Regions from separate parts of the Homo sapiens genome. Here regions 2, 3, 4, 5, 6 and 7 are each linked to region 1. Evidence: promoter capture Hi-C in human tissues and cell types (Jung and others, 2019). All regions are on one chromosome and are shown on one strand. Each heading gives the region's core, a stretch centred on a gene start or on the middle of the fragment in contact. The rest is flanking DNA. Distances are from core to core; before and after follow the strand shown.

Region 1 (3,341 bases), core at 364-2,863:
GGCGCAATATCGGCTCACTGCAAGCTCCGCCTCCCGGGTTCACGCCATTCTCCTGCCTCAGCCTCCCAAGTAGCTGGGACTACAGGCGCCCGCCACCACGCCCGGCTAAGTTTTTGTATTTTTTAGTAGAGACGGTGCTTCACCGTGTTAGCCAGGATGGTCTCCATCTCCTGACCTCGTGATCTGCCCACCTCGCCCTCCCAAAGTGCTGGGATTACAGGCGTGAGCCACCGTGCCTGGCCACTTCAGCGCTCCATCTTGCCAAGGTTTATGTACCAGCTGAGTGGAATCATCTGGGAAGGGATCATAAATAGCTACTCCATAATCTCCCACAACAGTTTTCTGATGTCTGAAGCTTACTCTGTACTATAATCTCTAGATTAGGCAGTTCCCCGACTGCAGACCCCATGAGATGACTTTCAACCACAAGCAAAGCAACACAAAGCAGATGGCAAAGCAATTAAAAACTATTTTTAATCATGTCTCTCTCTTCGCCCAAGTTTCTCAAATACTGTGCCTAGGTCTAACCCCTCTCTCCCACTTCACTCAACAAACGTGTATTGAGAATGTGGTAATGAGAAACACGGTGCAGATATAAAGGTGAACAAAGAACCCTAAGTATCCCACTTCTCAAATGATTCTCCTCTTTCCTCCCTGAAAACAAACCCAATCCCTCAAGATAGCCCAAGTCTGGAAATAAGACGATAACCGATTAGAAGGGGATTCCTAGCTTAATGGGAATAACATTGTACAATAACCAACAACTTGAATCTAACTGATGAATACAGTACACATGCGGGCAGAAAAGTGCAGAGCACGTCTAAAATCCTACCACATGGTCCTTCCCTTAACTCCCATCATAAACCTACATAGCCTGGTTATAGGGGGCTCACAGGTTTTCAGGGCCGACGGGACGCCCTTCCCCGTGCCCGCGCCACCCATTCGATCTCCACACTCCCGAGACCATCCCCGGCCAGGCCGCAGTGCCCCGGGCGTGGCTTGGACCCTCACCTGCCGGCTGGCCGCCGCTCAGCGCAGAGGGGGGCTGCAGGCTATACACTGTCTTAACCACACTGGTCATCGTAACGAGGCGGCACGGCTGAACCCTGGAAGGTACAGGATGAATGTTACCCAGCGCTGGGCCACTGGGCCCGAGAGAGTGGAGGGCCCGGGGATAGCGCGACCCGACAGGCCCCGGCTCGGGGTTGGAAAAGAGAAAATCCTCCTTTCCCAGCTCATTCCGTCCTTCCTCCCATCCAGCCCAGTCCCTCGCCCCGGGAGAGCCGAACCCAGGAGCCCGCCGGTCCTGCCCGCAGTCCTTCTCGCTCTCGTTTAAAAGATTCCCTGCAGCAACTGTCGTGCCACCGGCTAAGTCGGCCGCCTGGGTTTCAAATAGAAACTTCCGGTAGCTAGGCGGAAGTGGGTGGGAATCGCACTCTGTAGACAGCCATGTTGTACGGAAAACTCTGTCCAGGGGCGGGGCTTCGGGAGCCGCCATACTGTACGGAAGGTTCGCTCAGAGGCCAGAGCCAGACCTAGCGAAAGGTGTTGGAGCCCCCAGGTCTGGGCAGAGGAGGAGGGTGATGCAATTTGTAGGCTTGAATGGAGCTAATGAGCTACCAGCGTCATATTCCGGGATGGAGACGCAAACGTGGCGACATTTAGGGTCCATGTCACAATCCTCTTTATTTAGTTTGGGATTGTTAGGGATATTGCCAGGAGCACAGGTTATTTGGATGAAAACTACACGTTACAGGTGGAGAGTGGCAGGTGAGGCTTGAAGAAAAGGACCTATGGGCTGAGATACCTGAGGCACCTACCTGAGGTCCTAATTTTAATAGCACTTATCCAGATTTTCAGTAGTGATTCAAAGCTACTCCCAATAAACAGGGTAGCTTCCATTACTAAATGCACTAGCTCATTCATTTCATCTGGCATTTATTGAGTACCTGCTGATTACCCAACAGTGTTCTCAGTGGGTGGAAGGGAGTGAGGGAGGGCAAATATCAAGATTGACCTTGGCTCTGCCCTCCTGGAGTTTACAACTTAGAAAACAGACAGTGAACAAATAATCACATAAATAAATATATATTTACGGATTGTGGTGAAATTGTGAAGAAGGCTGGGCACAGTGGCTCACAGCTGTAATTATAGCACTTTGGGAGGTGGAGGCGGGTGAATTGCTTGAGTCCAGGAGTTTGAGACCACCCTGGGCGACATGGTGCAACCCCGTCTCTACAAAAAATACAGAAATTAGCCAGGTGTCGTGGCATGCTCCTGTAGTCCCAGCTACCCTGGAGGCTGAGGTGGGGGAATTATGTGACCCTGGGCGGGGCAGAGGTTGCAGTGAGCGGAGATCGCGCCACTGCACTTCACCCTGGGTGACAGAGCGTGATCTCAAAAATCAAACCAAAACACACACACTATGAAGAAAAAGTACAAAATCGTATAAGATAGAAAAGCAGGGAAACTTAGATTATATTGGGGGCTCAGGGAAGACCTCTCTGAGATGATGTTTGATTAAGGAAGGAGAGGGAGTTAATTTCATTGGGGAAAGGGGAAAATGCAAAGTCCCAAGGCAGAAATGGGTTCTTCTATAGGCACAGAAAGATAGGAAGAGAGTGGTACAGATAAAGCTGGAGAAATAAGCAGTCAAAAGACAGATTTTACAGGCCAAGGTATAGAGATTAGATTTTATCTAAAAGTAATGGAAAGCCACTGAAGTATTATAGCAGGAGAGTGTCATCCAATTTATATTTTATTTTATTTTATTATTATTTTTTGAGACAGGGTCTCACTCTGTTGCCCAGGCTGGAGTGCAATCATAGTTCACTGCAACCTTGAACTCCTGGGCTCAGGAGATCCTCCCACCTCGGCCTCCTGAGTAGCTAAGACTAAAGGTGCCTGCCACCAGACCCAGCTAATTTTTGTAGAGATGGGGTCCTGCTATGATGCCCAGGCTGGTCTTAAACCCCTGGCCTCAAATGATCCTCCCACTTCAGCCTCCCAAAGTGTTGGAATTACAGGCATGAGCCACTGTACCTGGCTCAATTTATATATACTTTATATATATATTCTTTTCTTTCTTTTTTTTTTTGGAGACGGAGTCTCACTCTGTTGCCCAGGCTGGAGTGCAGTGGCACGATCTCGGCTCACTGCAACCTCCGCCTCCTGAGTTAAAGCGATTCTCCTGCCTCAGTCTCCCGAGTAGCTGGGTCTACAGTGCCACCACCACGCTTGGCTAATTTTTTATATTTTTAGTAGAGACGGGGTTTCACCATGTTGGCCAGACTGGTCTCAAACTCCTGACCTCAGGTGATCTGCTCGCTTCGGCCTCCCAA
Region 2 (3,341 bases), core at 528-3,027, 230 kb after region 1:
CTACTCCGGAGGCTGAGGCAGGAGAATCGCTTGAACCCGGGATGCGGGGGTTGCAGTGAGCTGTGATCATGCCACTGCACTCCAGCCTGGGCAACAGAGTGAGACTGTCTCTAAAAAGGAAAAAAAAAAAGCTGGTTCAGTGTGATGCCAGCCTCCAACAGCACTGCCTTCGTGCCCAGGCGCCGAGGGCACAGCCTCACTTGGCCATTCTGAGAGCACAGGGAGGCCCTCCCTGGAGCCAGACATCAGCACCCCACAGTGGACACCAGCAGAAGCAAGATGTCCTCCAGTAGCCTTGGAGACAGAGGCCATCAACCAGAGAGAGCTTGAGCAGGACAGGAGGAACATGGCAGATGCTCTGAAAACACCCAGACCACCTAGGGAAGGCTTCAAAAGGAGGGACTCATTCAGTGCCACACATACAGTTGCATAAATATTGCTGCATCCGAGAGTGCCTGTCACGCAAATGGGGACATTTTTCTGCTTTTTCTACTCAGAGAAGGCACCTTCAAAAGTGCCCAGAGAGGCCTCCTCTCTCTAATTCACACAAAGCCCTGTGTGCAGCGGCCCTGGGGCCCTATGGAAGAGCCAATGGGATTCTCCTGACTAGTGCATGTGACTCCATAGGTCTGAGGCCTGAGGAAATGGGTTACATAATGTTCTGTCCTTATTTCAGGAGGTGACAATTCTAAGATAGCTGAATGGGGGTAGGGATGGCTCCTGGCAGAGCCAATCCATTGTGGGGACACTTGCAGGAGAATGGAGTGTCTGTGGGTGGATATGTCTGAGCCGCCATTGCTTTTCTGCCAGGCAGGCTTCCTCACTTCCTCTCTGACATTGCCTCCTGGGTCTTGGTGCAAACTGTGGAAAGTTTGCTTCTTCCCTTCTCGGGGGCCCAGCTGGGAGCTACTCCTGCAGATCTGGACTCTGCATTGCTTTTCCAAAGAAAGGCCAGAGGTCAGAGGCCCCCAGGCTGGGAGGGGCCAAATGATTGGAAACAACTTAACTTCGCTGAATGTGGGAACTAAGTTGGCTACAGCTAGGTGCGAGAAGATTGTTAGAATTAAGAGAGGTGACAGCTGTTTTACCTCTTTCCCATCTCTGCCTTCTTCTCTAAAGGCTGTCCTTTTAAAGTTTTACCTGGAGGTGTGGGTCCCAGTCAGAATTGGCCAACATTCTCCCTTTAAAACAACCTTAGGAGACTGAGGGCCAGTGGGAAACTTGAATTTGGGACCCGCCCAGAGCAACTTTGGAGGAACTCTTTATGTTTTAGAATTTCAGGCTCACCTCTGGGATGATTGAACATACCAAAGATGAGAACCCCAGCCTCTTTTTTGAGATGCAGTCTCACTCTCTCACCCAGGCTGAAGTGCAGTGGCACAATCTCTGCTCACTGCAACCTCCACCTCCCAGGTTCAAGCGATCTTCCTGCCTCATCCTCCCATGTAGCTGGGACTATAGGCGCCTGGCTAATTTTTGTATTTTTAGTAGAGACTGGGTTTCACCATGTTGGCCAGACTGGTCTTGAACTCCTGACCTCAGGTGATCTGCCTGCCTCGACCTCCCAAAGTGCAGGGATTACAGGCATGAGCCATCGTGCCTGGCCAACCCCAGCCTCTTGAGCCAAGACAACCACAAGCTTCCGCTCTCCATGTAGGTCTTTGACACTTGTTGCTCTGAGGCATTTCAGTGCCTTTCTTCCAACACGGGCTCCCAAGCTAAAGCAGGGAGAACAGAATCCAGACAAGCAGAGTTAGAAACATCATCTCCTAACAGCCAAAGATGGCATGGAGGGCTGCAAACCTCTCTGGATCTATCTGAGCCTATTTCTAGTTTTCCGTCCAAACCCTTTGTAAGGAGCTATTGACATGGTTTGGATGTTTGTCCTCTCCAAATCTCGCATAGAAAGAGGCTTCTCCATTGTTGGAGATGGGGCCTGAAGGAAGGTGTTTGGATCCTGGGGCAGATCCCTTATGAATGTCTTAGTACCATCCCCTTGGTGAATGGTGAGTTCTCATTCTGAGTTCACCTGAGATCTGGTCGTTAAAAGTATGTGGTACGCCCCTTTCTCTCTCTTGCTCCTTCTTCATCTTCCACCAGAAGTAAAAGCTCCTTGTGGCCTCCGTCACCAGAAGCCAAGCAGATGCTGGCGCCATGCTTCCTGTGCAGCCTGCAGAATCTCTAGCTAATTAAACCTCTTTTCTTTATAAATTACCCAGCCTCAGGTATTTCTTGAGAGCAATGCAAAAATGGCCTAACACAGCTATAGAAGGCAGTGGGCATTCCAAGAGAAAAGGCTTTTTTTTTTCTTGCTAGCTCTGGTTCCCTTTGTTGTCAATGAGGAAGATGTGGCATTTGAGAGGCTGACTACTGCCAGCTGTGGGATGTGTGCCTGGAACAGACTCCCAACAATGAATATGAGTTACCTATGGCAGCTGACATGAGGAAGACCCCACTACACAGACGAGCATGAGAGAGGCCCATCCGTCTACCCACAGGCTGCGCCTTCCTCCTCAGTGGTAAACAAAGATATTGGACCAGTTGACCTCTTTCTAGCAGTCAAAGGCTCCAGTTAGCCTTGTTTTCTTCACTGGTGTAGAAAAGCTATGAGAATATGGGTTCTAACTCTTCATCCCTAGGACCTGGCCCGAGGCAGGTACTCAATCAATACTGGTTAACTGACTGATTGACAGTAATGAACAAAAGAGAATAGCTAGCACATGACCTTGTTGGACCAAGCACTCTAGGATGTCCACCATTCATTTGACAAACATTTCTTGAATATTTTGTGTCGGGTGCTGTGCCAGGCACCAGAGATATAAATATGAAAAAAGCACCAGTCTTATGCTCAAGAAAAACAAAACAATCTATGATATAACAGCTTATGAGCTATAGCCCCAGCAGGAGCCTGGAGTTAGGGGAACTTGAAAGAGGATGGGGGCCCTCCCACACCCAAGCATGGGGGCTGAGAGAACAAGAGAAAGGGAGGTTGGGATTGCTGCCAAGAGGGGTCTTTAAAAATGAGTAGGAGTTACTAAAAAGAGAGAAGGGGCTTTCCAGGTGGAGAGAATAGCACAGGAAGGACTAGGAGGCAGGAGAGTGAGAGTGCATTCGGCATCTGGGGAAGTGCAGGTGGTTGCAATGGCAGGAGCCTAGGAGAGTTGTGAGGACCTGAAATGAGACCCTGACTCACTGTGCCTGACAAGCAGCAGGTGGGGAGCAAACCCAGCCCCTTCAGTTTTGAGCCCAGGGCGGGCATCCAGCTGCATTGTCAAAGCAGGGGCTTATCCCACTGAGCTCTCAAGTTTCCCAGCTGTGGAACCACCTATTCCTCCCACTTC
Region 3 (3,341 bases), core at 293-2,792, 200 kb after region 1:
AATGGTCTTTTAACCCTAACATACTCAAAGGAATACAAACATAAAGGATATACAAAATTTTGTCTGGTTACTTTTTTTTTTAATAAATAGAGACAGGGTCTCACTAGGCTGCCCAGGCTGGTCTTGAACACCTAGGCTCAAGGGATCCTCCTGCCTCAGCCTGTGCTGGGATTACAGGTGTGAGCTACTGCGCCTGGCCTGGTTACTTTCATCTTCATAAAGAAGAAACTGCCTTTGGGAAGTAGAATAGGTGCCTCTGCCCACCCTTAATAATTCCCACTTCAAAATATCCAAAAACCACACTCACATAACTGGCTGTCGTGCAGTCTCTTCCACATATGGAGTGAAACTGGGAAGCACAGCGGGTACAGCTATCAGTGAAGCTGTATTGCCACGAGGCTGGAGATGAAGAAGAAAACTAAAATTACCATAGTTTTATGTTCTCAGACAGCATATATAGACCATGGCTAAATATTCAAGAGGAATTAAAAGAGATGGTAAAAATACTTCTCTACCCTAAATGTGAAGTCTTTGTTGTGTCAGCAAAGCACTGGATCTAAGAGTCCTTACCCTGTGTTCCAAGGACCTGCCTGTGTTCCAAGGGCCTGCTTGCAGCTCATTCTCTTTGGCCCTGGGCATGGGGGGTGCTATCCATGGCTGGACTGTAGGCTTAGACAACTCTGCTGTAGAAGCCTCATCAGCATTTTCATCAAAAACAGTAATTCTACTATTATTTTGCATCTGTTGAGGAAATGGATTTTGGAGTCCTCTGTTCTGGCTTGGAGCTAGGAGCAAAAATATTAAAACCTCATGTAAAATGTTTCATTATTAACTTAGATGCCAGATAAAGTATACCTATTCTTCCTCAACTCAAGGACAGTATTTCCACTACAACAGAAAAAAAAAAAGAAATTTTAAAAATAATCTTTAAAAAAATTAATAAATCAAAAATAGAATCGTTTTATCCATTCTTTGTTACTTATATTCTGCCTTCTTTTCCCTCCTCCAGTCACCCCACATCTTTTATTCACAAATTTCCAAAAAAGACATTCTGCATCTTCCTTCAGTCATCATTATAACATTATCTAGTTTTATCAGAAACTAACCTAAGTTTTATTCTTCAGTTTTAAATTTTCTCTCAATGGAAATCAGCAGAGATATACTGGAACTAGAGAATACAAAATTAACCCATTTATTAGGGGTTTTCTCTGTTGTGGGGCTGGTTATTAACCAAGCTTCATCATGATCTGGATGAAATAGCCTTTGGGACCATACACTCCCTATATCCTAATTCTAGAACCACCAAGTAACATTCTGATTATTGATAAATTGATACCAGGAAAGAAATAAGAGATTAAAAAAACAGCCTGGTTTACATGTCTAACTGCTATAAATTTAGTAAATAAAAGCTTATTATTCTCTGTACCTTCTGCTCAATTTTGCTATGAACCTAAAACTACTCTAAAAAATAGTCAGTGTTGTCCAGATGCAGTGGCTCACACCTATAATCCTAGCTACTTGGGAGGCTGAGGCAAAAGAACTGCTTGAGCCTAGGAGTTTGAAGCTGCGGTGAGCTATGATTGCACTACCACGTTTCAGGCAACAGAGCGAGAACCTATCTCTCAAAAAAAAAAAAAGTCCATGTTAATTAAAAAAAATTATTGCTGATCTTTGGGTATATAGAGAGTCTAATTTCTGGTCCCAAAGGGCTCTGAAGGCAGGGTTCTTAACCATATTAGTATCATTCTCTGAGGCTTTGGTATATGTAAGCTTCACTTTAACAACACCTGCTATGTTACTACATATCTTCTTTCAACTAACAATTCAAACTCAGAAAATCTTGATGCTTCCTAAATGTTAGGTCTTTCTTAATTAAGACACAAAATTACTGATGCATTTTGATTTTACTGCACACTGTAATATTAGCTCTCCTTTGACTTCCTTCTTTTTGCTACTCAGTATTCAGCAAACTAGAAGTGTCCACAGGTATATTTATGTATTATCTTCTTACATGATTTTACCACTAGAAACTAACAGTTTTCCGAAATAACGTTTAACAAACTTACCCTTGAGAGCACCTCCTACACGGATGATTGGAGCTCTTGCTGTCTTTTTCCCTTTGCTCTTTAGTTCAGCTAGTGTGCTTCGTTGTGGTACAGAAGACTCAAAAACTTCCTCCTCTTCTTCTTTCTCAAGTGCCAACAGAGTTTGCCGAGACACTCGAGCTTGGAATTGTCTAAAGTAGCAGAATGCACAACTTTTAGTGAGGTGACCACTATTTTACCAGACTCAAAATTTCCAATTTGTTAAAGTAAACAAATTAGAAGAGCAGGCTGGGGGAAGAATGCAGAAATATCCCAAAGAACATGTTTATTCTCTCAGAAGTAAAGAGAGTCACCTTAAGATCATGAAAAGTTTTGGCTAGAATTATTTAACTCTCCCTTTAAATGCCCAAGTTTGACCAATTTAAATTATTCTGAAAATCACCATTAAGTTGATCTGAGGATCAGGTTAGGGTTATTAAGACTAAGATCACAGAGTTTATTAAGATTAGAGTTTTCCCACTAACTTTTTATTAGAAAACTTGACCCACCAATTGTTAACACTGTGCCACATCTATTTTATCACTGTGTCTCTTTTTCTATACACATGCATGCGCGCACGTGCACGCACACACATATACGGTTTCTCCTGACCTATATGAAATGAAGTTGCATATGACATGACATTGTACTTTAGCAAAGCTGGCAGAAGTTTGAAAAGTAAACTTCCTATGCTGCTGCCACAGTTTTAAGTATTATCAGAAGAGATTCTCCATTCCTACCACTGCTTCATTTAACTAGCCTTAAAAAGTATTATCATAAGGGTAAAAAAAACCCCAAAAAACCCAGAATAAATTGCAGGTGTTGGCCAAGATGGAGTATGCCCACTGTACCTTTTCTCTTTCTCTCACTGATAGGAATTAAAAACTATAGACCATATACAAAAAAAGCAACTAACTGAGGGCTCTGAAAAGTCAACAAAAGCAAGCAGACTGTGGAGAGGGGTCAAAACTTGAAGAAACAACCCACGCAGGATTGTTTCCTGTTTTTTTATTCTTCTATTTTCTCTTGTGGTTTTGAACTGTTGCAGTGGTGGTATGTGAATGTAAAACTCAGAGAAACCCCATCTTTCTGGCCTGAGGACTGGGAAAAGAGGACTCTGAAGGCCAAAGAATATGGGAGGAGAACTGCAAAGGAATGAGCTGAACAAGAGGATCTCCTAATTCTGTATGTGAATTGGCATACATCTTAGGTTCCCTCTTGAGCTATGCATGCACAGGGTAGATTCAAAGCAGCACA
Region 4 (3,341 bases), core at 314-2,813, 180 kb after region 1:
TATTTCATGAAAATTAGATCATATAGTATGTGGTCTTTGTATCTGGCTTCATTCACTTGACATAACGTTTTCAAGGTTCATCTATGTTGTGACAGGTATTAGTACTTCATTCCTTTTTGTTGCCAAATAATATTTCATGGTATGGATACATAACATTTTGTTTATCCATTCATCAGTTGATGGACATTTGGGGTTGTTTCCACTATCATGAGTAATACGGCTATGAACATTTGTGTACAAATTTTTTGTATGAACATGTGTTTTCAATTATTTTGAGTATATACCTGGGCAGAGATCTGCAGGATCATATGGTAACTGTGTTTAACATTTTAAAGAGCTGCCAAACTGTTTTCCAAAGTGGCTACACCATTTTACATTCCCACCAGTAATGTATGTTCTAATTTCTCCACAATTTTGCCAACACTTGTTACTGTGCGTAATTTTTTATTATAGCTATCCTAGAGGATATAAAGTAGTATCTCACTGTGGTTTTGATTTGCATTTCCCTGTTGAGTAGTAATGCTGAGCATCTTTTCATGTGCTTAATTCAAGTCAGTGGTTTCAATTTTAACCTTAAGCTTTTGTGGTTTTGAATAAACAATCCACTAGCCCATTTACATTAACTTAAGGATACTGCTCCTTACACAAACATCTGGAGACACATCTTCATTTGAGGTGATGCTTTCTGAGGTTTTGAGAACTGCAAGGGGTCTTCGTTGAGCTAAAACTCGTGGGGGATCTGCAGGAGGACTGGAAAAAGACATACCTCACTTAGCAATTTTTTTCATAACAGTAACCCCTAATTTATCCTCACTTATAATAACAGAAAATTCTTAAGTAAAAAAAAACCAAAAAAACAAAAAAACAACGTACCTTTTATTCTTCTTTTCTGAAAGAAGAAACTCATCAAAAATGGAGAAAGGTACACTGGGACCTAGAGAAAGAGAGACTAGATACATACTCTAGGAGTAAATGCTTTACTCTTCAAGACAACCAGATAAATTAATCAATATTTTGTGTTGTTTGAAAGCAGGAAGGCAACCTGTTTTTTTAATAACAAAAAGCTTCAAACATATAAAAGGTCATTAAACAATTTACCAATTACCTAAACTTAGATGATCTTGTTCCATTTAGATTCTCTACCACTGTCACTACTCCCCAAACCCAACCCAACAGGATTATTTTAAAGCAAATTCCAGACATGTCATTTTATCTGCAAATATTTCAGTATATATTTCTAAAAGAGGCTTTTTAAAAATCCCAATCCCAAAACATGATACCTACCTATAAAATGAACAATTTATGAATATATATATAATATCAAATGTCCAGTGAGAAGTTTCATATTTTACCAATTAAAAAAATGTTTTGGCCGGGTGTGGTGGCTCACACCTGTAATCCCAGCACTTTGGGAGGCCATGGTGGGCGGATCACGAGGTCAGGAGATCGAGACCATCCTGGCTAACATGATGAAACCCCGTCTCTACTAAAAATACAAAAAAAAATTAGCCGGGCGTGGTGGTGGGCGCCTGTAGTCCCAGCTAGTCGGGAGGCTGAGGCAAGAGAATGGCATGAACCCAGGAGGCAGAGCTTGTAGTGAGCTGAGATCGCGCCACCGCACTCCAGCCTGGGCGACAGAGCGAGACTCAGTCTCAAAAAAATATTAATAAATAAAAAAAAATTTTTTTAAAGTTTGTTTGAATTGGGAATGCAGAGTTAAGATCCGTATACTGTGACTGTTCAAATGCCTCTTAAATCTCTTTTATTCTATAGAGTTTTGGGGGGAATTTTTGTTGAACAAACTGGGTTGCTAGCCCCATAATGCTGGATTTTGCCAATTCCATCCCGCTGTGTTGTTTAACAACGTTCCTCCATGCTTTATATTTCCAATAAATTGACGGTTAGAAACAGAGGTTTAATTAGATTTTAATGTTTTTTATTTTTATTTTTGCCAAACCATTTACAAGTAGATATTCATGTTTCACCACTTTTAACACATTTTGAAGAAAAGAAAACCAATTTGAGTATAAAATAGCTTTAAATTTTTTTTTCCCTGAAAAGAAACACTTCCCTTAGTGTCTTTGCTGTTTAGTGTACAGTAACTAAAGTATAAGATTTGGTGGTTAGTGTAAATTTAAAATTACAATTAAACCAAATATTTTGAAGCACTGAGGAATCTTTAAAAAAATACTCTTTCAAATGTCTTTCCTATCATAAAGCATATGCTTATACTAAATTCCTAGTATCCTAGTCCCCCTGTCTTTCAATCCCTTTATCATAATTAAAAATATTTACCATTTATTACATAATACATTTGTTATCAGCAAGTTCTTCTCAAGGCTGTCAAATACAACTCACCTTTAGAATGAGGTTGTTCCTGCCAAATGTTCTCCGCAAGTGAAGTTTCTCTGTAAAGAAACTTGTTTTAAATCATGTGCTCAATACCCACAGAAAGAACTGTTTAATTTTTAAAAGTCCAAGAGGCTTTTCCATTAAATATAATATTTACTCTAAGATAAATTATTACTGTCAATTCAAATTCTCTTAAAGAAGATGGAAGCTTTGGTTATCAAAAATGTTGCAGAAATATATTTGATAATAGATGTCAAGTTGCATTAATAGTATAAGCAGATTACAAAATGGTAAGCTGCCATTTTTATAAAACAAAACAAAAATACAACACAAAAGAAGAGACAGAACAGTGTTAATGGTAATCATCTCTTAGTGGTAGAAATGGGTGATTTTGTTTTTTAAAAACAGTATATGTATTTGTTTCTATAAGAAACATGTTTCTTCAGTGGAAAATAGTCAATGCTCTGTCCTCCCTCATCAGCATCAAAGCTTATGTTGTGACAGAGACTTACAAAAACCATGTCTCGATACTGTAAACGTCAAGGAGACTTCAAGGCACTAGAGAGTCAAAGGTTGGTTCTAAATGCCCTCCTATATGCATTGTCCCTTCCACCTATGTAGTCTTACCTGGCACAACAGTTTACTTGACAAACAGAACTGGATAGAGTCATTCCTGGTATTTTCTGAGACTCGGAAGCAATTTGCAGTTTAGTTGTCTCCTTTGTAGGCATCGTCTCTTCTTGCTGTTTGCATTAAATAAACAAAATCAATGTCCCTCCCATCCAGAAAATGCTATTTTCTAGTTCTAACATTAGCTTTACTGTACTCTTTCCCTAGACATCCACTAACAGTACAAAATGAGTGTACCACAAAAGTCATTTCCAATAATTTTTATTCCTACTCTAAACCAGTACTGTTGTACTCAACTGAGCAGTGCCAGGCATATACTAAATTTCTTTAGGCAATCCCATTTTAATGGAACATAGCTA
Region 5 (3,341 bases), core at 160-2,659, 170 kb before region 1:
GCAGGTTTCCTGGCTGAGCCCGAGCTTCCCTCCCTGTTTATTGTGTTCATGATCAGTATGTGTTTCCATATAAAACTTTTCTCAACGGAATAGCAGTGTCTGTGGTGCTGTTGACTCGATTGCTCCTGGAAGGATGTTCCCAGGCAGCAGGAGGTAAAGACAAATGCATGCAAAGGCATGGGAGCTGGCCACTTTGCCAGCCTCCTGTTATTAGCATGTGCCCTCAGACAGTCCAGACTTTGGTGTTCTGAGGCCTTAGCTCCATGGGCCTTCTTCCTGGGTAATAGTTTACAAATCCCTAAAGATCAGTAGGGTGGCTGTAAAAATCTTCCGATCGAGAGAGGAGCTAAAAGAAAAAATAGAATAAATAAATCTTCTGAGAACATTTGCTTTTTTTTTTTTTTTTTTTTTTTTTTTGAGGTCGCACTTTGTTGCCCAGGCTGGAGTGCAATGGTACAATCATATAGTTCACTGTAACCTCAAACTCCTGAGCTCAGGTGATCCTCCCACCTCAGCCTCCTGAGTAGTTGGAATTACAGGTGCAAACCACTACACCCGGCTATTGTTTGCTCATTTCTAAATCAAGTATTTGTCTTGCCCAAAAGGATAGGAACCAATTAGGTGGTTCCATATACTTGCTTAGTGATACAAATATTTTTATTGTAATATTCAAATATACTTTCCTCTTTTTTTTTTTTTTTTTTTTTGAGATGGAGTTTTGCCCTTGTTGCCCAGGCTCGAGTGCAATGGCGCGATCTTGGCTCCCCGCAACCTCTGCCTCCCGGGTTCAAGCAATTCTCCTGCTTCAGCCTCCTGAGTAGCTGGGATTACAGGCATGCACCACCACGCCCGGCTAATTTTGTATTTTTTTTAGTAGATTTGGGGTTTCTCCATGTTGAGGCTGGTCTCGAACTCCTGACCTCAGGTGATCTGCCCGCCTCAGCCTCCCAAAGTGCTGGGATTACACGCATGAGCCACCGCGCCTGGCCGCTCCTCTTTTTTCCTTCTTTATTTTTTTTTTGTTTTTTTGAGACAAGGTCTCCTCACTCTATCACCCAAGCTGGAGTGTAGTGACAATCATGGCTCACTACAGCCTCAACCTCCCAGGCTCAATCCATCCTTCTGCCTCAGCTTCCCCTGAGTAGCTGGGACTATAGGCATGTGCCACTATGCCTGGCTAATTTTTAAAAAAAATTTTTGTAGAGACAGGGTCGCATTATTTTGCCCAGGTTAGTCTCGAACCTCTGGGCTCAAGCTATCCTTCCACCTTGGCCTCTCAAAGTGCTGGGATTACAGGTGCAAGTCACCATGCCTGGCCCTTTCCTCTCTTTTCATTGACTAATGGTTAACCTTTTTTTTTTTTTTTTTTTTTTTTTTTTGAGACAGGGTCTCACTCTATCACCAGGAGGGCTGGAGGGCAGTGGCACGGTCTCAGCTCACTGCAGTCTTGACCTCCTGGGCTCAGGTGATCCTGCCTCAGGCTCCCGAGTATCTGGGACTACAGGTGCATACCACCATGCCCAGCTTATTTTTTATATTTTTTGTAGAGATGGGATTTCGCCATGTTGTCTGGACTGGGTTAACACCTTTATTAGTAGATTTAGTCGCTTTATTCCTACTGCATTTTATTGGCAGGATACGTGTGACACAGAGAGTGGCTCTCTGTGGCCCCTGGGTACATTGAGGAAGCCAGAATATTGACGGTCATCCAGGCTTGCAGGCTGCCATCTCCACCTGGAGTTCAGATGCCAGGCCTCACTCCTCTCCAGGGCCATCTGATGGCTTTCAGGATGGATTTTTTTGTTTTGAGATGGAGTCTCACTCTCTTGCCCAGGCTGGAGTGCAGTGGCGCCATCTTGGCTCACTGCAAGCTCTGCCTCCCGGGTTCACACCATTCTCCTGCCTCAGCCTCCCGAGTAGCTGGGACTACAGGCGCCCACCACCACGCCCGGCTAATTTTTTGTATTTTTAGTAGAGACGGGGTTTCACCGTGTTAGCCAGGATGGTCTGGATCTCCTGACCTCATGATCCGCCCGCCTCGGCCTCCCAAAGTGGTGGGATTACAGGCGTCAGCCACCGTGCCCTGCCAGGATGGATTTTTTAAAGAAAGAAAAACTAAAATTTTTATTCTCCCTGCATGATAAACAAACAACAATTATTCTTCCTCAGAAACAACAGTTTAAGAAAAAAAAAGCAATGAGGTCCCAAAACACTCTCCCAAAGTGCAGATCATGGGATGGTAAGAGAATGTTTCTGTACCCGAAAATAGTGTTTCTGTCATTCAGGCAAGATTCTAGCTTTGCCTTTTCCCTACTTCCCATTTTCTACCTCAGAAACAGAAATTGGAATATGAGAGGGTGGAGAATCGCTTTAGAGGAACTGAAACAGAGTTTGTAAGTTGAATGGTTTCTAGCCCATGTGTAAACCTGGGTGCGGTGTGAGAGGAGCTCTGCACGACTCCACGGAAGGGAACCCAGTGAGTTGTAGCTATAGTTTCTTAATTGATTTAGAGGTGACAGCGTAAACAATGGCTCTAAAAAAAGGTGAAACTCCATTTACCAAAACCAAATTTGACACTAGCTCCCAAAGCTAACTTGTTAATACAGATTTATCTTAGGCTAGTGAAGTGGCACTAAATTTGAAACTGAGAGTCTTGGGTGCTGTCTTTTATCTGTCTTGTGGCTTACTGAATGGTCACAAATAAGTCAAGTGACCTCTTCATGTTCCAGTTCCTTTTCAGTAATGGGACTAACCATAGGAAAAAATAGTATTGGCCTAAAATGCTGATCTCTTTCCTTTGACCCTGAAAACTCCAAGGAACTCCAGTTAGGGCTTCCTCAACCTAGTAAGATTTGTAAGTTGGTAGAATCTTACTTATCACCCCTGACTTTCTTCCTTCTTCCTCCTTAGTGAAATAGACAGCAAGTTAGAGCAAATGGAGCAATATTTAGTGCTAAAGCTTTAGAGCCAGGGGAGGGTAATCACCAACACGGGCCAAGCCGTAATGACTTGGTACACCCAGAGAAGGCTGGGCTGCAGCCAGGCAGATAACCTAAGGGACTGCTGCTGTTCTCTCCCGGCACACACACGTGCTCATCACTCAGCGCCTGGCAAGATCAGGGCTGGAGTGACACAGGCATGCATCCAATACCTGATCCAGAAATAGGCCCTGGCTGCAGGCACAGCAAGTAAACAAACGTCCCGCCAGCTGTGGCCGAGGTGCACCCTTCCAAGCAGACCTGCCCACCAGGACCATTGCTGGAAGACGGAAGCCCTGGAGCCTCTCCCTGGCCCTGTTTTGGAAGGAGTCCTCCAAGGCTGAGAACAGCCCCAGCCACATG
Region 6 (3,341 bases), core at 568-3,067, 160 kb after region 1:
ATGGTGGCTCACGCCTGTAATCTCAGCACTTTGGGCAGCCGAGGTGGGCAGATCACTTGAGCCCAGGAGTTTGAGACCAGCCTGGGCACTGTGGCGAAATCCCATCTCTACAAAAATACAAAAAATTAGCCAGATGTGGTGGTGTGCGCCTGTGCTCCCAACTACTTGGGAGGCTGAGGTGGGAAAATTGCCAGAGCCTGGGAAATCAAGGCTATAGCCTGGGCAACAGAGGACACCCTGTCTCCAAAAAAGTGAAAACATTAAAACATAAGCCATGTATACAATCATGCCACTTGAAATTGAAGGATATTTGGTCTTATGCATATCATCTTACCTACTTTTCAGTCTAGACCACTTATTGGAAGGTCAGACCCACCTAAAGAAATAGTTGGCTACTCTGTCTCATCACAACCCTATTGTAACAATTCGAAGTCTAGGATATATAAATTTCCATGGCAAAATAGTTCATCTCTGCAAAGTTAAGCCATCTGTTATTTTAGTTTGCAAAAACTACATGACATGTTAGAAGCACAAATTTAACAGATACTATTTTATTATTTACAAAATACATGGTGATCATAAGAGAACATTTTACAAATTACAAATGGGAAAAGTACAGGGAAAAGTAGAGACAAATGGGTTAAATAACAAGGTAACCATTTGTAATGAGTCTGTTTAGAATAAAATAGTTCTTCACAAAAGTTAGACAAGGCCATGAGTAAGTATATCACTGTATAAAAAATATCAGTGACGTCAAAATATACCTGTACCAAAAAGTAGAACAGCAATGGTAGTGCATCTAAATGTGTCCTAAATTAAATTACAGCACATACAGTTTCAGTGTTCCACAATACAACCATTGCTCTGAGGCAGCAATCTGTGAGACTTGATTGCCTAGCTCACTGAAAGAGCAAAGCCCCAGGACTAGTTAACTTCCCTACCTTCCATAAGGCTTTGTTCAGGTGACTTTGGAATGTAGTGTCAAAAACCCCATTCATTTCTGCTGCAAGCTCCCCAAGAACAGACACTGTGGCCTCATCATTGGCATTCAGAATCCGCACAAAGAATTTATTCCACAATTCACCATCTTTTAGCCTAAAAATATATAAAACCATTTCCATCAAGATTAGGCATATGAAAATTATAATTCCTTTTAGTTTAACTCAGTGGTACATTTATGCACCAAAATGGTGTAAGGTAATACCTAGAACTCTAGGGTTAGAGATCATTCAAATAGTCCTTTGAAAGCCCAGGGAAGAACTACAAAAAAGGGCTACCATAGTGGGAAAAGCCAAGATACAATGCACATAAAGGGAAAGAAGATCTCTCATCTAAATCTATAAATTTCCTCTGTGTACTAAGACATAGCACTTTTCTTCTACAAATAGAAGAAAAAGGAATTTTATTTCCTCTAACTTTCCTAGAGTCTAGGTCATTAAAAAGGCTACAGCTCCTTTCTCCTACCCCAGTAGTGGATCTTCTTTACAATTCTCTGATAATCGTAAGCTTGACTAAACTAACTACTGCTTAATATGTTTGTACCTTTGCTTCTTATTATTTTCTTTTGATCAGAGAAACTTCCCTTATTAGATAAGGCAGGGCTGTTAGGAAACCCCAACTGACCCCACTTGTTTCTGCTTGTGTTAGCCAGACCTGCCTGGACCATAGCCAAGTGGACATGCCTATATCCATCCTATATGTCTTACATTGTATTTCAAGCCTATTTTTAAAAGTTCATGTAAGAGACAACACTGGCCAAGTTCTGAATTAAATGAAGAGAAAAGTACAATTCAATTATTCAAAGATGAAAATAGAGAAGGGGCATTAAATCTTCAACACTCATTTTTTTTTTTAACCAAAGAATATAACAATAGGTGACAGGCTGGGAACTTATTTGCTAAGATAAGCTAAAGTGGAACGTAGATACTTAGTTTTTTTTGAGACGGAGTCTCACTCTGTTGCCCTGGGTGGAGTGCAGTGGCGCGATCTCAGCTCACTGCAACCTCTGCCTCCCAGGTTCAAGTGATTCCCGTGCCTCAGCTTCCCAAGTAGCTAGGATTACAGGCATGTGCCACCACACCCAGCTAATTTTCTTGTATTTTGAGTAGAGACAAGGTTTCGCCATGTTGCCCAGGCTGCTCTCAAACTCCTGACCTCAGGTAATCTGCCTCGGCCTCCCAAAGTGCTGTGATTACAGGTGTGAGCCACCATGCCCGGCTGACTTAGTAAGTTTTATGAGCAGGCTTGAGGGAGTACTAAGGTTCTGAGACCAAGCAGTGCTTATTAAGAGACCACTTACTTCTTCTCCAGGAGAGTCAGTTATCTGGTTTGGTTCTATCCACTTATTAAATAAAAAATAGCCTAAAATTAGCATATAGTTTAGAAATGTAAGTCTTTTCAAAGGATGCTTATTAACTTTTGGTAATAATTGCTATTAAAAAGGAATTTAGGCCAGACACGGTGGCTCACACCTGTAATCCTAGCACTTTGGGAGGCCGAGGCGGGCGGATCACAAGGTCAGGAGTTCGAGATCAGCCTGGCCAACGTAGTGAAACCGCATCTCTACTAAAAATACAAAAATGAGCCAGGCATGGTGGCGCACGCCTGTAATCCCAGCTACTCAGGAGGCTGAAGCAGGAGAATCACTTGAACCTGGGAGGCAGAGGTTGCAGTGAGCCGAGATCATGCCACTGCACTCCAGCCTGGGCAACAGAGCGAGACTCCGTCTCAAAAAATAAATAAATAAAGAAAAAGGAATTTAAGGCTAACACCAATTAGTTAGAAAATTATTCTCATGAAATGCTTCTTTTCACATATCTAAACAGGGAAGCTTCCATACTATAGCTGTAGTCTGGAAGATACAGCTAGATTCAGAATGATGTCCTGAAGTCTGAATAGTTTTGAATCTTATTTTTAGTAAGCAGTTCCTTTTTCCTGCACTAGCTGCTCTGCTGATACTCTAATGAAAACTGGCTGAAACTACTGGAACCATGGCATTTGGATTAAAAAACTAAGGCTGCCAAAGCAGAGATAGCACCCAAGAGAAACAGAAAATTATTGGGACAGGCAGAGACCCTGACATTCATCAATACTTACTCAGAAATATTTTGGCTAAGTTTCCAGAAGGACCCATCCCAGAAGACCTGTAGGTGTTCCTTGAACAATAGTAAATGTGCTAAATCTGCTATACCAAACAGGTCTACCTGAAATCACAAAAAGCACCATCAGCTAAAATAATTCTCTGCCTCTACCATGGCAGCTTATTTCGGTAGGAAGTTGAAAGGTATTACAGTGCTTAACTAAGTTTATTTTATGACATACATTTTAGTAGACTGTTCCTC
Region 7 (3,341 bases), core at 345-2,844, 140 kb after region 1:
CGCCAGGGAAGCCTGCCTGCAGAGGGGACTCCTTGCTTGCCCCAAAGGCCTCAACCCCAGCTAGATGAGCTCCCGTGGGGCTGAGTCCCAGGCCCACCAGGCCTGGGGGCCACACGGCTCCTAAGCTCATCCTCTCCTCCTGCAGCCCAGTTCCCACCAGAACCAGCCTCAGGAAGACCCCAGGCAGAACGGCACAAACCTCTTGGTGTACAATGCCAGGGAAAGGATAACTGGAGACCACAAGACGTTAGCCTTGCTTCCCGGTGGGGCCCAGTGCTTTATAAACCCGAGCTCACTGGGCCCGATGTCCCCAAAGCTGACCAGGTCATCCACCCTGCAGCAGGGGTGGGGAGACCAAGGCCTGTGAGGAGTGACCGTGCTTGGCCAGGCAGCTCCCTGAACCTGCCCTGATGCTGAGTTTCAGAGTCAGAATCTGTGCCAGGTCAAACCCAGCCAAAGGGTGTGACTTGGAGCCTGGGACCCAGCAGTGCTCCCTAAATATTTGTGGAATGAATACACAAGGGAAATGTCCCAGAGGTGGTAAAGTGAGAGGGGCCTTGGATAGGGGTGTCCCGGTGGCACTGGCTTGGCCCAGCTGGGGCAGGAAGAGTAGAAACAAGCACCTCTCCCTCTAGCTAGGGAGCCAGAGACCAGCTGGGATTGGACTGTTTCACAATCAATCTGGAAAGAAGGTGGCAGGCCGGGTGGGGAGTGGAGCCCCTTGACCCAGGAACCCACAGCTGTGGAGTTAGCCTCCCTGTCCCAGGTGGGAGGCAGCCTGGACACCTTGGCACCCCCGTCCCTAGCCCAGGAATCCGGAGCACGCAGCGGCAGTGGGGACCTTACCGTGGCTGCTCCTTCTGGGCAGCGGGGTCCTGCGTTCTCCACTGCAGGCTGGTGCTTGTCTCTAGCCCAGGAAGCGGCACTCCCTTCAGGCAAAATAGAAAAAAAAAAAAAAAAAAAAAGGAAAAGAAAACCTCAGTGCTTTTCTCACCCAGCCTCTTCTCTTGAAGGCTCCTGGTTGGTATTGTCCTGCCACTGTGGGCACACAGCCTCCCTCCCTCTGGCAGCTTACTCACTGGTGCCCGCAAAGCTGCCAGCTGTGTGGGGGAGAAGGGACCTCCCCCCTCCTCCTGACACACACTGGGGCATGCCCTGTGGGGACCAGGGGCTTGAGGGTGGCACCCGCTGGGTCCTGATCATGGGGAAGCCGTACCCTGGCCAGCACCCTTCTCACTGAATGTGTCCCTGTGAGCTCAGCAGAGACGCACATGGGTGCTGACTGGCCCTGCATAAGAGAGTGACATGGTTCTTGGTAGGAAGCTGTTTCCTTGGTACCCAGGCCTGCCAGAATGAAGGGGCAGCTGATGGGCTGTCCAGCCCCCCAGTGATGGGCTCTCACCCTGGCCAGCCCCTCCGGACGGCTTCCTACCTGGGCATCTTGCTGTGTCTCTGTCCTGTGCACCCAGACAGGGCCTGGGCCTGCCGGGGCTGGCAGCTGCTCCTCACCCTGCTCAGGCCGTGTGTCTGGCGTCCCCTCTCCCTGACGCCCATCTCAGGGCCTGCGCCCACCCAGCATCAGTTAGGATAAACTCCTGTCAAGCCCCCAGCCAGCTCTCTGCTGGACCCAGCTGCTGTCCCCAGCAGGGGGACGGCACACACACTGGCTTACACACTCTCGCACTCACACACACGTGGGTCCACACCCAACACAGAGCCACCTACCTGCCCAGGCCAGCCTAAGCCAATCCAGCCTCGCTCTCCAAATGCCACTCCGACCCCAGAAGCCACTCCTTTACCGAAACATCCCCGTGGGAGATGAGTTCAGAGCCAGCCCGGGAGGACTCCAGTCAGCTCGGACAAGACTGCCCTTCTGTCCCAACACCTCCAGAGGACACACACAGGCAGCCTGACCACCATATCTGCTATTGCACTCTGCCTGCTGCCACAGCCCCCCGGGCACTTCTGGCCCCCACAGCGTCTTCCATATCTTTAGGGGGTGGCAGCAGACTCACAGCAAGTCCCATCTTCCTGGAGCCCAAGGTAGGGAGGGGAGAGCTAGAAGGGGCGGGACTCAGGTGCAGCTCCAAGTTTCCAGCTCCCAAAATAATCAGATGCAAAGGAGAAGCAAGAACAGCTCGAGGCGGGCGGTGACTCAGTGCTAGTGGGCCGGCTTAGTCACCTGGATGGCTGCTGGCGGCTCCTGGCACATCAGGACGGGAGCAGCGCCCTCCCCCACCTGCCTGGACCGTGGCTGTCTCCAGAGTGTGGCCGCCGAGCCCCGCGCCCAGGGCTGCCTGGCAGGCGAGGCCGCTCCACCCCGCTCCCGCCCATCAGGGCCCAGCGGCCCCGGCTGCGGCGCGCCCCTCCTCCACCGCGCGCCCCGGCTCACTTTGGGATTTCTCCATTAAATCCTCAGGCATCGACCTGCTCGTTTGGGGCGCCGAGCTGCTCCAACGTTGCTTGGCAATTTTGATATCGTCGGGGGTTGCCATGGGGAGGAAGGTGATGTCATTGACACAAAAAACCCACTGAATTTACAAATCAGCTGGGGCTGGAGCTATTTATAAAAACACGTTTTTATCTGCCTTTCTTTGCTGAAGGGGAGGAGGAGGAAGGGCTGCCTGCCGGGCTCAGGGTGAGCCTCCCTGCTGTCCTTCCTACCCTTGCCCTAGAGAAGCCAGACCTCCTTGGCTCACCCCCACCCCCACCCCCCAGAACTTGGAGCTGCGCATTCAGATCTGGCAGGTGCTGGTCTCAGCTGGTTTTGCTTCGAAGGCTGAGAGTGGCACATGGGATGTAAGGCAGGGTGGGTGCTGGCTTCCTGGGCTGGCAGGGACCAGAAACCAGTTACTCAACCGGGTCCCTTTATTTCATTGCCCCTGGTCAGAAACAGAGGCATTTGCTGGTGAGGCAGCTTGAGCTCCTTGATGTGCCCCCCTGCCAGCTCCCCGGAGCGCCAGGTGGAGCCCAGCCTTCCACAGTGCCCTCCCCATCCCTAGCCTCAGTGTCTCCTCCACTGGCTTCTTTTCTTCTCCTAGTGTCCAATCGTGGGCTGCCCAAGCTCCAGGCTTGGTCCCCTGCTCATCTCTCCCCACACTCAGCCACCACTCCATCAAAACACCTTTTTTCTGTGGCTTTGACCATCACCTGGGCAAATGCTTGCCCGAAAACCCATTTTGTGCCTGCCCCACTTCAGGCGCCACCTCTGATGGCCCAGCTCCCACTGCCAGGACCCACTAGCTATTGACAGCCAGAGGGAAGCCTGGGAGTTCTTGCCTCTTCCCGTCCCCCAGTCCCTTATATCCAAGGTGGCACTTGGCTCTACATTTTATTTTTGA

What was found. The method cuts DNA at HindIII sites, captures the fragments that hold promoters and counts their contacts. A contact is called where the count stands out against the background at its distance.
Region 2: a fragment that was not itself captured here is called in contact with the fragment with the promoter of KNSTRN in region 1 in 2 of the 25 tissues and cell types used here (H1 embryonic stem cells and IMR-90 fibroblasts).
Region 3: a fragment that was not itself captured here is called in contact with the fragment with the promoter of KNSTRN in region 1 in 2 of the 25 tissues and cell types used here (liver and mesenchymal stem cells).
Region 4: a contact is called between a fragment that was not itself captured here and the fragment with the promoter of KNSTRN in region 1, in 3 of the 25 tissues and cell types used here (IMR-90 fibroblasts, bladder and mesenchymal stem cells).
Region 5: a fragment that was not itself captured here is called in contact with the fragment with the promoter of KNSTRN in region 1 in 1 of the 25 tissues and cell types used here (IMR-90 fibroblasts).
Region 6: a fragment that was not itself captured here is called in contact with the fragment with the promoter of KNSTRN in region 1 in 3 of the 25 tissues and cell types used here (bladder, mesenchymal stem cells and ovary).
Region 7: a contact is called between a fragment that was not itself captured here and the fragment with the promoter of KNSTRN in region 1, in 1 of the 25 tissues and cell types used here (aorta).

What each region holds. Positions count from the first base shown.
Region 1 is chr15:40,380,993-40,384,333 of GRCh38, reverse strand. KNSTRN (kinetochore localized astrin (SPAG5) binding protein) reads right to left here and starts at 1,613. Exons shown (of 9, transcript NM_033286.4): 1 at 1,290-1,613; 2 at 1,012-1,106. The coding sequence starts at 1,498. RefSeq lists enhancers at 535-1,056, 1,122-1,291, 1,057-1,580, 1,540-1,609, 2,235-2,735. The HindIII fragment of the contact is 15,043 bases long and covers 1-3,341 here.
Region 2 is chr15:40,155,495-40,158,835 of GRCh38, reverse strand. No RefSeq gene overlaps it. Among named protein-coding and RNA genes, the nearest start is that of BUB1B, 3.9 kb to the left of the region's middle. RefSeq lists an enhancer at 507-1,367. The HindIII fragment of the contact is 5,307 bases long and covers 1-3,341 here.
Region 3 is chr15:40,182,609-40,185,949 of GRCh38, reverse strand. BUB1B (BUB1 mitotic checkpoint serine/threonine kinase B) reads right to left here. Exons shown (of 23, transcript NM_001211.6): 6 at 2,067-2,236; 7 at 571-785; 8 at 308-399. All of the region lies in intron 1 of LOC107984763 (a long non-coding RNA gene), which reads left to right. Among named protein-coding and RNA genes, the nearest start is that of BUB1B, 23 kb to the right of the region's middle. The HindIII fragment of the contact is 4,788 bases long and covers 1-3,341 here.
Region 4 is chr15:40,199,998-40,203,338 of GRCh38, reverse strand. BUB1B (BUB1 mitotic checkpoint serine/threonine kinase B) reads right to left here. Exons shown (of 23, transcript NM_001211.6): 11 at 2,980-3,095; 12 at 2,359-2,408; 13 at 874-934; 14 at 645-750. All of the region lies in intron 1 of LOC107984763 (a long non-coding RNA gene), which reads left to right. Among named protein-coding and RNA genes, the nearest start is that of BUB1B-PAK6, 16 kb to the left of the region's middle. The HindIII fragment of the contact is 3,067 bases long and covers 30-3,096 here.
Region 5 is chr15:40,549,848-40,553,188 of GRCh38, reverse strand. It overlaps CCDC32 (coiled-coil domain containing 32), which reads left to right. Exons shown (of 4, transcript NM_001080792.4): 4 at 1-90. Among named protein-coding and RNA genes, the nearest start is that of CCDC32, 14 kb to the left of the region's middle. The HindIII fragment of the contact is 4,888 bases long and covers 1-3,341 here.
Region 6 is chr15:40,218,318-40,221,658 of GRCh38, reverse strand. BUB1B (BUB1 mitotic checkpoint serine/threonine kinase B) reads right to left here. Exons shown (of 23, transcript NM_001211.6): 22 at 3,097-3,203; 23 at 536-1,095. The coding sequence ends at 900. All of the region lies in intron 1 of BUB1B-PAK6 (BUB1B-PAK6 readthrough), which reads right to left. The region is part of intron 1 of LOC107984763 (a long non-coding RNA gene); the gene reads left to right. Among named protein-coding and RNA genes, the nearest start is that of BUB1B-PAK6, 2.6 kb to the right of the region's middle. The HindIII fragment of the contact is 3,322 bases long and covers 157-3,341 here.
Region 7 is chr15:40,238,187-40,241,527 of GRCh38, reverse strand. The region is part of intron 1 of BUB1B-PAK6 (BUB1B-PAK6 readthrough); the gene reads right to left. PAK6 (p21 (RAC1) activated kinase 6) reads right to left here and starts at 2,465. Exons shown (of 11, transcript NM_001395430.1): 1 at 1,726-2,465; 2 at 847-929. LOC107984763 (a long non-coding RNA gene) reads left to right here and starts at 1,827. Exons shown (of 3, transcript XR_001751506.2): 1 at 1,827-2,043. The HindIII fragment of the contact is 8,776 bases long and covers 1-3,341 here.